3 separate regions of the Homo sapiens genome follow, and all the other regions are linked to region 1. The links are contacts of gene promoters, found by promoter capture Hi-C in human tissues and cell types (Jung and others, 2019). All regions are on one chromosome and are shown on one strand. Each heading gives the region's core, a stretch centred on a gene start or on the middle of the fragment in contact. The rest is flanking DNA. Distances are from core to core; before and after follow the strand shown. Region 1 overlaps GAL3ST3 (galactose-3-O-sulfotransferase 3). Region 2 holds the start of AP5B1 (adaptor related protein complex 5 subunit beta 1). Region 3 holds the start of CD248 (CD248 molecule).

Region 1 (4,020 bases), core at 49-2,548:
CACAACTTCCGTAGTGCTGGGCAAGGCCAAGTCCCCTCACTTCTCCGAGCCCCCGTTTTCTCATCTATAAAGTGAGACATGATATGTGTGACACAGCCAGTCACCCTCACACAGGATACCATGTGATTCATGGGAACCCCAACCCTACTCCTGACTCACTGTGTGAACCCAACAAATCCCTGCACCTCTCGGAGACTTCATGTCCCCATTTTCTACACTGTCTGCCCCTGAGAATGGTGTGAATGCGCCCAGCCCCCCTTGCCAGATAATTTGGTTTGAAATCCCAAACACCCATGTTTTAAGAATGAAGCAACAGAAATGAAAGCTTCACGAGGGCTAGGATTGTTTTTGTATATTACTGTATTTCTTGAACCTAGCATTAACCTGGCACATAGTGGACACCCAAAAAATATTTGATGACTGAATTAATGAGGCTTTAGAAGCCTCAAGAGAAACATAACAATGGGTTGCTGCAAAGCCCAGTGCCAACCATCTACAAAGTGAGGAGCCAGTTAAAGAGTAAAAATGAGAAAGAGCAAAAGGATTTAGTGACCATGTGAGTCGTCTCCAGACTTTGTGTAAGTGATTGTTCTCCTTTTGGCCCTCAGTTTCTACATATACAAAGTGGGATTCCTCAAAGATCTCCAGGGGTCTTTGTCCCTTATTTATTTCTACATAAACAAATTATCTTAAAGCTTAGCAGCTGAAAACACAAACATCTGTTATTTTGGGTCAGGAAGCCAGGTGTGGCTTACTGGGAACTTCTGGACCAAGGTCTTTCATGGGGTTGCAACCAAGGTGTTTGCTGGTGATGCAGTCTCATCCGAAGGCTTGATTGGAAGGGATCAGCTTCCAAGCTCACTCACGTGGTTTTGACAGGCTTCAGGTCTTCAAGCCGGCTGGTGGACTGAGGGCCTTAGGTCCTTGTGGGCTTTTCCCACTTAGTGGTAGCTCCCTATAGGGCTGCCCACTATATGGCAGCTTGCTTCCCCCATCATCTGTCATCCCAGATTGAGTGAAAGACACCAAGATACTAGCCAGCCACAGTCTTTCTATGATGAAATTTAAGAAGTGACATCCCATCATTTCTGCCCTCTTCTCTTCTTTAGATGCAATGATAAGTCCAGCCTAACTCAGGTGAGGGGAATACTCAAGGGCATGAATACCAGGAGGGCAGCAGGGATCATAGAGGGCATCTTAGAGGCTACCAAGCACCGCCCTCGACCTTTCCATGAGTGCAGCCCAGGCGGGGCCGCGCTGTGGGGCATCCCACAGTCCTTGGGTAAGGGCAGGGGTCAAGCGGCAGCCCCCTCACACCCTCCTCTCCGCACACTCCCTGGGCCTGGCAGGTACCCCAAGCTGTTCCCCTTGAGCTGCCCTCCTCTGCGGAACTCGCCGCCGCGCCCCAAGCACATGACTGTGGCCTTCCTGAAGACTCACAAGACGGCAGGCACGACGGTGCAGAACATCCTGTTTCGCTTTGCCGAGCGCCACAACCTGACGGTGGCCCTGCCGCACCCGAGCTGCGAGCACCAGTTCTGCTACCCCCGCAACTTCTCGGCGCACTTCGTGCACCCGGCCACGCGGCCGCCGCACGTGCTGGCCAGCCACCTGCGCTTCGACCGTGCGGAGCTGGAGCGCCTCATGCCGCCCAGCACCGTCTATGTCACCATCCTGCGCGAGCCGGCCGCCATGTTCGAGTCGCTCTTCAGCTACTACAACCAGTACTGCCCGGCCTTCCGGCGCGTACCCAACGCCTCGCTCGAGGCCTTCCTGCGCGCGCCCGAGGCATACTACCGCGCTGGCGAGCACTTCGCCATGTTCGCACACAACACGCTGGCCTACGACCTGGGCGGCGACAATGAGCGCAGCCCGCGCGACGACGCCGCCTACCTGGCGGGCCTCATCCGCCAGGTGGAGGAGGTTTTCTCGCTCGTCATGATCGCCGAGTACTTCGACGAGTCGCTAGTGCTGCTGCGGCGCCTACTGGCCTGGGACCTGGACGACGTGCTCTACGCCAAGCTCAACGCGCGCGCCGCCAGCTCGCGCCTGGCCGCCATCCCCGCGGCGCTGGCGCGGGCGGCGCGCACCTGGAACGCCCTGGACGCCGGCCTCTACGACCACTTCAACGCCACCTTCTGGCGCCACGTGGCGCGCGCGGGCCGCGCGTGCGTGGAGCGCGAGGCGCGCGAGCTGCGCGAGGCCCGCCAGCGCCTACTGCGGCGCTGCTTCGGGGACGAGCCACTGCTGCGGCCTGCCGCGCAGATCCGCACCAAGCAGCTGCAGCCGTGGCAGCCCAGCCGCAAGGTGGACATTATGGGCTATGACCTGCCCGGCGGCGGCGCCGGCCCGGCCACCGAGGCCTGCCTCAAGCTGGCCATGCCCGAGGTCCAGTACTCGAACTACCTGTTGCGCAAGCAGAAGCGCCGGGGCGGTGCGCGGGCTCGGCCCGAGCCCGTCCTGGACAATCCCCCGCCTCGGCCCATCCGAGTGCTGCCTCGCGGCCCTCAAGGTCCCTGAGCTCCGCAGGCCTCCAGGAGTATGGGTCCTGCCCTGCCCTCCCAGGAGTCCAGCCAGGGGCTGCCTCCATGTCCTGCCCCCATGAGAGCCCTTTCTTTTCAAGGGGCTTGAGTCCCTCGCTGAACTTTGGGGTACGCCTCCCTATCTGAGCCCCCGCTCCCGATCGTGGGCTGAACCTTGCCTTCGGGCACGGCGCTGATAGGCTGGATCCAGCGCTGGGCCACCCTCTCCTTCCCAGCTGGTTGGTGATTTTGACAAGAGGCCTGAGGGCTGTCCAGAACTGCTCACCCTGCCTTTTTCTGGGGGCTGAGCCCCCACAACCTGTCTTTTCCAAGTGGATAAGCCCAGGCCCCATGGAGAGAGGCTCAGCCCTAGGGAAAGGCTGCTCTTGCTCTCCCTCCCAGGGCTTGAGGCTCCCTATACTTTTCTGTCTTCCAGGTTCTACCCTCCCCACAGACCTAAGCTGCTCCCAGTCTCCCAGAACCAAGAGTTCTTGGGTTGGGATTTTTGTTTGGTTGGTTTTTCTTTTTTTTAATAAAACATCTTTAAAATGTGCGAGTTGTATGTCAGTCATAGAAGCCGGATTCCCCACATTTGAGGATGAAACGGATGCCCAGGAGGAGCTGTGGCTGGACCCATGAGGATGGGGGCCTGGACTCAAGGTCCCCCGCCACCTGGCATAGGCCTACAACCCTCCTCAACCGCTTGACCGACTGGGCCCCCAACACAGACTGGCCACCTTAGCCCCACTCACTTTCCACATCGTTCTTTTTCACAAAATTCTGCGACATTTACTGAGCATCATCTCTGTAACTTGGGGATACAGGTGAACCAGATAGATAGGGCCTTATTTTCATGGAGCTTATGGGGAAACATTGGAACAGGAGCAAGACAGGTAAGCAAAGAGGAAGGACTGGAGGGGTTAGAGCACAACACCTCTTTGGGTGGAAGGAGGATCATTTTCAGATAAGGAGCTGCCTAACTCAGAATTTGACCTCCTCCTGTGAATCACTGACTTCACTAATGGCCTGCTTTCCTCACAAGAAGACAACTTGGACTCAGATGAAGACCAGTCCCTTTCTGCAGTTTCCTTTAACACAGCAAGATAGCCAGCACTTCCAGGTGAAATCTCCCTTAAGACTAGCAGAGAATTGGAACTTTTTCTGTTACTTTCTTCAGAGCTATATCGACGTATCTGGACAAGTGATAAAAAACAATAGCTATTATGGTCTACGGTGTGCCAGCCACTGTTTAAGGGCTTTATGTATGTTAACTTTGGAGATGGGTGCCGTTTTCCAGGTGAGGGAACTGAAACTTGGGGGAAATTAAGTCAGGGTCACACAGCCAGAAAGTGGCCACTAGGATCTCAACCAAGGCAGTGTGGCTTCAGAGTTTGTGCTCACAAGTGCTGTCTGTAGTGCCATTCAAATAAAAAAGGTCACATGCCACAAGCTAGGCTGATTCCCAGCACCTTCCCCCAAAAGAATGTAAAGGGAAGAA
Region 2 (3,629 bases), core at 1,077-3,576, 260 kb after region 1:
CAGCACCCACTATCTGCTCTATCTCCATGGCTTTGCCTATTGACTCGTTCTTTCCTAAGCCTTCCTGTATCCCCAGCAGCCAGTGCTGCGAGAGTGTGTTTGTTGTAGCCCGATTTTACAGATGAGAAAACTGAGGCTCAGGACCCCTTGGGAAGCTGACTTTCCCTTTTACAAGCCTTGTGTTTAGTGTCTGCCCACAACTGGGCTGCATGGGGAGGACAGAAACTCAGCAGGAGAAGAAATGAGGGAGGGCGTGGAGTGGGGAATTCCCAGCTCAGCATCCGGCAGTGGCCCACACCTGGGCCCTCGACTGGGATGTTGCTGTCCCGGGTGAGTCCGGTGACAGTCTGAGCTCAGCTCCATGCCTGGCCTTGCCAGGGACAGAGCCAGCACCACCCGCCAATAGGGGAGCAGACAGGTGAGAACAGGGCCCATCCAGGGACCTGGACACCCAAGAGGGCCGAGGGTACCTGGTGTGGGGGGAGGACCAGGTCAGATGCAACAAGGGGCTGTTTGTGGAAGTCGAGGCTCCACCTCTGAGGGGCTCTGTGACTGAGAGACCGTACCTCTGTGGGCTTCCCTTTCCTCATCTGATACCCACTCTCGGTACCTGGGGTTGCTGTGAGCCTCAGTAAGTCCATGCGGATTCGTCCACTGCAGTATTGGAGACCACAAGTGGGTTCCCTCCCTCCAGACCCTCAGCCTCAAGGAGTCAAGACTCAGGCAGGAGGTGTGCAGAGGCCACGCTGTCAGAGGCTGAGCCGGGGCCAGAGCCAGTGTCAGGCCCCCTGATCCTTGGAAACCTGTCTTCTCAACTCTGCAAGAAGTTTAATGATCATTCCTGCCTCACCGTGAGGGTGGTGAGGGCCGGGGATGTGCAGTTACCAGCACCCTCTGGGCTCAGACAGAGAAACCAGACTGGCTCCTACTGCAGGCTGCCTCCCCTCCCCAGGGCTGCTCTCATCCTGCCTCTTTCATCTTGGGTTTAATTAGCCAGGCTGCCTCACCCCACAGCCTCTTGGGTGGGAGTTATCACTCCCATTTTATAGATGGGGAAACTGAGGCACCTAGAGGGAAGTAGTTTGGGGCTGCTGCCTGTGAGTCAACTGTGGAGCCAGGGCCTAGAGGAGCCGGGACCGGGCCTTCTGGCTGGACCTGTCCCTCCGAGTGGGTCTCTATCTCTCCATCCCCAAGGGCACCCAGACAGCCTCCTTTTTGGCACTCTCCACCCCTCAACTCTCCACCACCTCCCATCTGGAGCAGGATGGGGTAGGGAGAGGCCAGCTGGCACTGGCTTGCATGGGGGCTCAGGCCTGTTTCATCTTCAAAGCGGCTAATTGGAGCCAGAGGGGTGGTGAGGTTTGGGCGCCGGCGGTTCTGTGCCCTGGAAACCGGTGGTCTGTGGGGCACCTGCAACCTGGGCCTCTGGCCTGGGAGAGACCGCCGCCCAGACCCCCGAATGCCCCCAAACAGCCAGAATCCAGCCCACTGAAGTCTGGAGTGCTGGGTTCCGGCCCGGCTTGGCCCCAGATCTCGGTTGGCAAGGCCGCCCTCCTCCTGGGCCTGTTTTCCCCATCGCTAGGCATGCCTCGAGCCCCGTGACCGGCCAGGCCCTGACAGCCCGCACTTCCCGAGTATGGATCCCGTTGTTTTCGACTTAGGGCCCTGCCCCGCCCTCGCCGTCACGACCCCTGCGGGCCGCCAGCGCGGCCTCGGGCAAACAAAGGTCAGAAGCTCCTGGCTGGCCGCAACCGCGGCGCCGGCTCCTCGCCCCCAAGCCGAGCGGGCTGGGGGCCCGGGCAGGCGTCAGGGAAGCGAAGCCAAGCCCTGCGGCGCCCGCCGGACCGGTTCAGCTGGGGCGCTTTTCCTGCGGGCGCCCTGCGACCGCACCTTGGTCACCCCCAGGGGCCACTCCGGGAGCCCCAGGACCCGCACCCACGCCCCCCGGGGCCGCGCGTCTGGCGCAGGGTGCGGTGTGCCCGGGCGCCGGCGGGGGGCGCGCTGGCTGCCGCCCTGCGCGGCTTGGCGGGCGCTGGTGGGACCGGGCCGCTGTCCGCCGAGGGCCGCGGGATCGCAGCCCTGCGCCGCGGTACCCGGCATCTGGGGCCCAGGCCCACCCCGCTCCGCCACCCCTACCCACTCCCCTCCGCCTTTCCTGCCCCGGCCTGCGGCGGTTTCGGGGAAGGGGGCCTGCGCGGCGGGACAGTTAGTCAGCCCCCGCGAAACCTGCGAGTCGACACCTGCGGGAGGCGGTGGCCCCGTTACGCCCCGCCCCTCCCCGCCCGGACTCGGCCGCCCCCGCGCCGCGCCCCGCCCCGCGCCGCCAGCCCGGAAGGAGCCGGCCGGCCTGAGTGCCCGCGGCGGCTGAGTCAGGCGGCGAGCGCGGCCCGTTACCGCCGGCGCCGGGGGCCGGGGTGGCGCTGTGGTTTCGGTGCGGGCCGCGGGCGGGAGGGAGGCGGCCTAACGAGCTCTCGGCACGCACCCTCCCCCGCCCTGCTCCTGTCCTGTCCCGCGAGGGCCCCGGCGCCCAGCTCTGGCGTCGGCCCCGAGAGCCCTGGTCTCACCGTGGGAGCCGGGCGCGGGTCCCGCCGGCATCTGCGCGGCGTCTGGGGGTGACCGCAGCCCCTCGGGGTCGGCAGCGGGCCCCGCGCTCCCGGTGGCTGCGGCCTGAGGGTCCCTCTTCCCTGCGCAGGGGCCCGCGCGCCTCACCATGGGGCCCCTGAGCCGGGACGCCTGGGCCCAGCGCTTGGGGGCCTTCCGGGCCAGCCCGTCTGCCTTCATGGCAGGTCCCGAGGGGGAGGATTTGGGTCGCGACCTGCTGAGCGACCTGAGAAGTGAGAAGCTGAGCGAACAGACCAAGGTAGGCCCCCACGCGTCCCCTGCGCCGTTCCGCAGGGTCACCCCAGCCCGCCGCGTCATGAACCTCATCTTCGTGATTCCCTCCTAATCCCCCATCCAGGTTTCCCTGCTGGCCCTGAGCATGGAGTACCCTGCGCAGCTGTGGCCCGACGCCTCTGCGGCCGAAGTGGCCGCCACCTCCCTGTTGGACACCTTGGTCCTCCTACCCCCGCGGCCCTCAGCTCTCCGTCGGCCACTGCTGCTGGCGGCCACCACTGCCCTGGCGGCGGGCGGCGCGCTGGGCCCCACCTCGGGCGCCTCCTGCCGGCTCCTGCCCCTACTGCTCGGCCTGGCCGCGGGTAGCGATCTGGGGCGAGGCTTTGTCCCCGCCTCGGAACAGCGCCCCTTGCAGGCCACGGCCTGCGAGTGCCTGCGAGAGCTAGAGAGCTGCAAGCCCGGGCTGCTGGGGGGCTCCCTGGGGTTGCTGCGGGGCCTGCTGGGGCAGGAAGGCCCTGTCCAGCCACTCAGCCTGTTGCTGGCCCTCGCTTTGCGCAACACCTTGGTGCTCCAGTCCCGGGTTGGGGCTGGCCTGGGGGGACTGCTCACGGATAAGGTCTCCCCAACTGGGGGTGGTCCCTGGGATTGGACACTAGTGGAGGAGGGCGATGGACGCCTTCAGCCCCAGGCACCCAGCTGGCCGGCAGCTGAGGAGGGAGAGGGGGAGCGTAGCCTTACAGCACGAGAGCACAGCCCTGAGGAGGCGCGGGAGCTGCGGGCTGCGGTGATCCAGC
Region 3 (4,095 bases), core at 691-3,190, 270 kb before region 1:
CCACGGGAGAGGCTGTTGGGGAAATCTAGATTGGCGTTGCTAGCCACCTGGGCCGGGGGTGGGTGGCAAAGAAGGTGTCCAGGAGTGGTCAGATTCTGGATCTCTTTTGAAAGTGAAGCCAACAGGATTTGCTGAGAGACTGGATGTGGGCTGTGGGAGAAAGAGAGGAGTCAAGCATGACCTCAAGGTTTGGGGCCTGAGCCAACAGAAGGATGAACTCCTCCATCTTGACTTTTGTCTCCTGAGAAGGGGAGTCATTCTGTGTGCTTCACATGTATAGACCTTGTAAGAAGGAACTTCCAGGCATATGGCAAGAACTTCCTAAGCCCTGGTTCTCGAGGGGCTGGCTGGGTCTGCAGGGCCAGCCTAGGCACTGTAAGGTGGTTTGCAAAAACGCACCCTGGTCTCCACCCACCACATATGCTCAGAAGACAGGAACATTTGCTTCAGGCTCCACAGCTGACAAAGCACATTTGCAAACACTGAGCGCTGTGACGCAATATCTCAGCCCTGCTGAGCTAAAAATCCTGGACTCATTGCCCTCATGTTGCAACTGAGAAAAAAGGAGACCCAGAGAGGGCCAGTGACTCCCCTGCAGTCACAAAGTCGATCCATCTGTGGCAGAGGGGGAAGCTGCATCAGGGCAGTTTACTGAAGGGCGGAACCTCTCCCCCACCTCCCCACACTGTTTCTAACTTCTGCTAAGAGTGCAGCGGGTGTGCATGGGTTAATCCGCCAGCCAGCTCCCCAGAGGCCATCCTGGATGATGGGCTCAGTGCACATGCCTCCAGAGGCCTCCAGGAAGGGCGGGAAGAGGACCCTGGCCAGGCCGAAACAGCAGGCCCCGGGGGCAGGGAGGGCTCCACACACGTGATGCCTGTGTCACATATACACATATATGTCACTGTGTGCCCCATGCCCATACATGGCCTTGCATGGGTCCCCTCACAGCCTTCCACATCCTGCGTGCAGCCCAGCCCCCACCCAGCCCCCTAAACCACGCACCCTGCCTTCCTGACGCAGGAGCCCAGAGAGGCATTTCCTGTTTAGGGGCTGCCTCCTCCCCCTCTAAGCCCAGGTTCCCAGGGCCCCAGGCTGAGCTGGGGTGAGGGGAGGGCAGCCCCTGGCCCCCTCACTCCCCCAACACCCCCACACGCTGGCCCAGCTGGAACCAGAAAGCTTGAGTATAGGGGGAGAGGCTGACGCAGGGGCTCAGTAAATAAATGAGAGGCTGAGGATGCCTGTGCCTGGGTGACCAAGCTGTTTCCATTCAGGCCGAATCGGAGGTCTTCATATGTCAGGCCATGTAGAATGCCACACCATTTTTGTATGTGCACCTAGGGTCTCAGCATGTCAGAATGTGTGTACGTGTGGCAAGGGAGTCATCTGCAAGCCAGCATAGGTCCACGGTGAGGTGAAGGGACAAACAGCTTGGCAGAGAGTGCACTCTTGCATGGGGTTGGGGGTGGGGGAGGCGCATGCGCGCGTCTGTGGGGCAAGAAAGGAGTGGGCATGAGGGTGTTCCCGTGCATGGCGAGCAGCTGGGCTGAGACTGCTCCCGGGTGTGATGGGGCTGCTGTGTCCAGATTTGGGTCTCTGAGTCTCTGGGAAGCGACCTCACCCCACAGCCCCGAGCCCCAACTTGAGGGTCACAGAGCTCGGCAGGCAGGCTTTTCCCACCCCCTGACTCTCAGCCCCATGGGGCCTGGGGCAGCCGTCAACTGCGCCTTCTCCCCTCCTCCGCCCCCAACCTTAGAGCCCCCCACCCCACTGCTTCCTGCTCTAGCGGCCCCCGGGGAAGAGGGAGCAGGGAGCTGGCAGCCGCCCCAGCCCACTCCTTACAAGGCCTGAGCCCGGCCCCAGGCCCGCCCCCGGCCCGCCCGCAGGAGGCCCCAGGCCCTCCCCCTGTCAAGAGCTGCCGCCAGCCCGGGGCCGGACCAGTCCGGGGGCATCGCGATGCTGCTGCGCCTGTTGCTGGCCTGGGCGGCCGCAGGGCCCACACTGGGCCAGGACCCCTGGGCTGCTGAGCCCCGTGCCGCCTGCGGCCCCAGCAGCTGCTACGCTCTCTTCCCACGGCGCCGCACCTTCCTGGAGGCCTGGCGGGCCTGCCGCGAGCTGGGGGGCGACCTGGCCACTCCTCGGACCCCCGAGGAGGCCCAGCGTGTGGACAGCCTGGTGGGTGCGGGCCCAGCCAGCCGGCTGCTGTGGATCGGGCTGCAGCGGCAGGCCCGGCAATGCCAGCTGCAGCGCCCACTGCGCGGCTTCACGTGGACCACAGGGGACCAGGACACGGCTTTCACCAACTGGGCCCAGCCAGCCTCTGGAGGCCCCTGCCCGGCCCAGCGCTGTGTGGCCCTGGAGGCAAGTGGCGAGCACCGCTGGCTGGAGGGCTCGTGCACGCTGGCTGTCGACGGCTACCTGTGCCAGTTTGGCTTCGAGGGCGCCTGCCCGGCGCTGCAAGATGAGGCGGGCCAGGCCGGCCCAGCCGTGTATACCACGCCCTTCCACCTGGTCTCCACAGAGTTTGAGTGGCTGCCCTTCGGCTCTGTGGCCGCTGTGCAGTGCCAGGCTGGCAGGGGAGCCTCTCTGCTCTGCGTGAAGCAGCCTGAGGGAGGTGTGGGCTGGTCACGGGCTGGGCCCCTGTGCCTGGGGACTGGCTGCAGCCCTGACAACGGGGGCTGCGAACACGAATGTGTGGAGGAGGTGGATGGTCACGTGTCCTGCCGCTGCACTGAGGGCTTCCGGCTGGCAGCAGACGGGCGCAGTTGCGAGGACCCCTGTGCCCAGGCTCCGTGCGAGCAGCAGTGTGAGCCCGGTGGGCCACAAGGCTACAGCTGCCACTGTCGCCTGGGTTTCCGGCCAGCGGAGGATGATCCGCACCGCTGTGTGGACACAGATGAGTGCCAGATTGCCGGTGTGTGCCAGCAGATGTGTGTCAACTACGTTGGTGGCTTCGAGTGTTATTGTAGCGAGGGACATGAGCTGGAGGCTGATGGCATCAGCTGCAGCCCTGCAGGGGCCATGGGTGCCCAGGCTTCCCAGGACCTCGGAGATGAGTTGCTGGATGACGGGGAGGATGAGGAAGATGAAGACGAGGCCTGGAAGGCCTTCAACGGTGGCTGGACGGAGATGCCTGGGATCCTGTGGATGGAGCCTACGCAGCCGCCTGACTTTGCCCTGGCCTATAGACCGAGCTTCCCAGAGGACAGAGAGCCACAGATACCCTACCCGGAGCCCACCTGGCCACCCCCGCTCAGTGCCCCCAGGGTCCCCTACCACTCCTCAGTGCTCTCCGTCACCCGGCCTGTGGTGGTCTCTGCCACGCATCCCACACTGCCTTCTGCCCACCAGCCTCCTGTGATCCCTGCCACACACCCAGCTTTGTCCCGTGACCACCAGATCCCCGTGATCGCAGCCAACTATCCAGATCTGCCTTCTGCCTACCAACCCGGTATTCTCTCTGTCTCTCATTCAGCACAGCCTCCTGCCCACCAGCCCCCTATGATCTCAACCAAATATCCGGAGCTCTTCCCTGCCCACCAGTCCCCCATGTTTCCAGACACCCGGGTCGCTGGCACCCAGACCACCACTCATTTGCCTGGAATCCCACCTAACCATGCCCCTCTGGTCACCACCCTCGGTGCCCAGCTACCCCCTCAAGCCCCAGATGCCCTTGTCCTCAGAACCCAGGCCACCCAGCTTCCCATTATCCCAACTGCCCAGCCCTCTCTGACCACCACCTCCAGGTCCCCTGTGTCTCCTGCCCATCAAATCTCTGTGCCTGCTGCCACCCAGCCCGCAGCCCTCCCCACCCTCCTGCCCTCTCAGAGCCCCACTAACCAGACCTCACCCATCAGCCCTACACATCCCCATTCCAAAGCCCCCCAAATCCCAAGGGAAGATGGCCCCAGTCCCAAGTTGGCCCTGTGGCTGCCCTCACCAGCTCCCACAGCAGCCCCAACAGCCCTGGGGGAGGCTGGTCTTGCCGAGCACAGCCAGAGGGATGACCGGTGGCTGCTGGTGGCACTCCTGGTGCCAACGTGTGTCTTTTTGGTGGTCCTGCTTGCACTGGGCATCGTGTACTGCACCCGCTGT

The links. Contacts are between HindIII fragments. The study calls those that stand out against the background at their distance.
Region 2: the fragment with the promoter of AP5B1 here is called in contact with a fragment that was not itself captured in region 1 in 2 of the 25 tissues and cell types used here (lymphoblastoid cells and spleen).
Region 3: the fragment with the promoter of CD248 here is called in contact with a fragment that was not itself captured in region 1 in 1 of the 25 tissues and cell types used here (dorsolateral prefrontal cortex).

What each region holds. Positions count from the first base shown.
Region 1 is chr11:66,041,007-66,045,026 of GRCh38, reverse strand. It overlaps GAL3ST3 (galactose-3-O-sulfotransferase 3), which reads left to right. Exons shown (of 3, transcript NM_033036.3): 3 at 1,350-4,020. The coding sequence ends at 2,520. Among named protein-coding and RNA genes, the nearest start is that of GAL3ST3, 6.1 kb to the left of the region's middle. The HindIII fragment of the contact is 5,576 bases long and covers 1-4,020 here.
Region 2 is chr11:65,779,673-65,783,301 of GRCh38, reverse strand. It overlaps AP5B1 (adaptor related protein complex 5 subunit beta 1), which reads left to right and starts at 2,326. Exons shown (of 2, transcript NM_138368.5): 1 at 2,326-2,860; 2 at 2,960-3,629. The coding sequence starts at 2,711. RefSeq lists enhancers at 955-1,612, 2,342-3,244 and silencers at 1,873-2,612, 2,653-2,832, 2,983-3,252. The HindIII fragment of the contact is 21,769 bases long and covers 1-3,629 here.
Region 3 is chr11:66,314,889-66,318,983 of GRCh38, reverse strand. It overlaps CD248 (CD248 molecule), which reads left to right and starts at 1,940. Exons shown (of 1, transcript NM_020404.3): 1 at 1,940-4,095. The coding sequence starts at 1,957. RefSeq lists a silencer at 1,742-2,011 and an enhancer at 2,495-3,191. The HindIII fragment of the contact is 8,045 bases long and covers 1-4,095 here.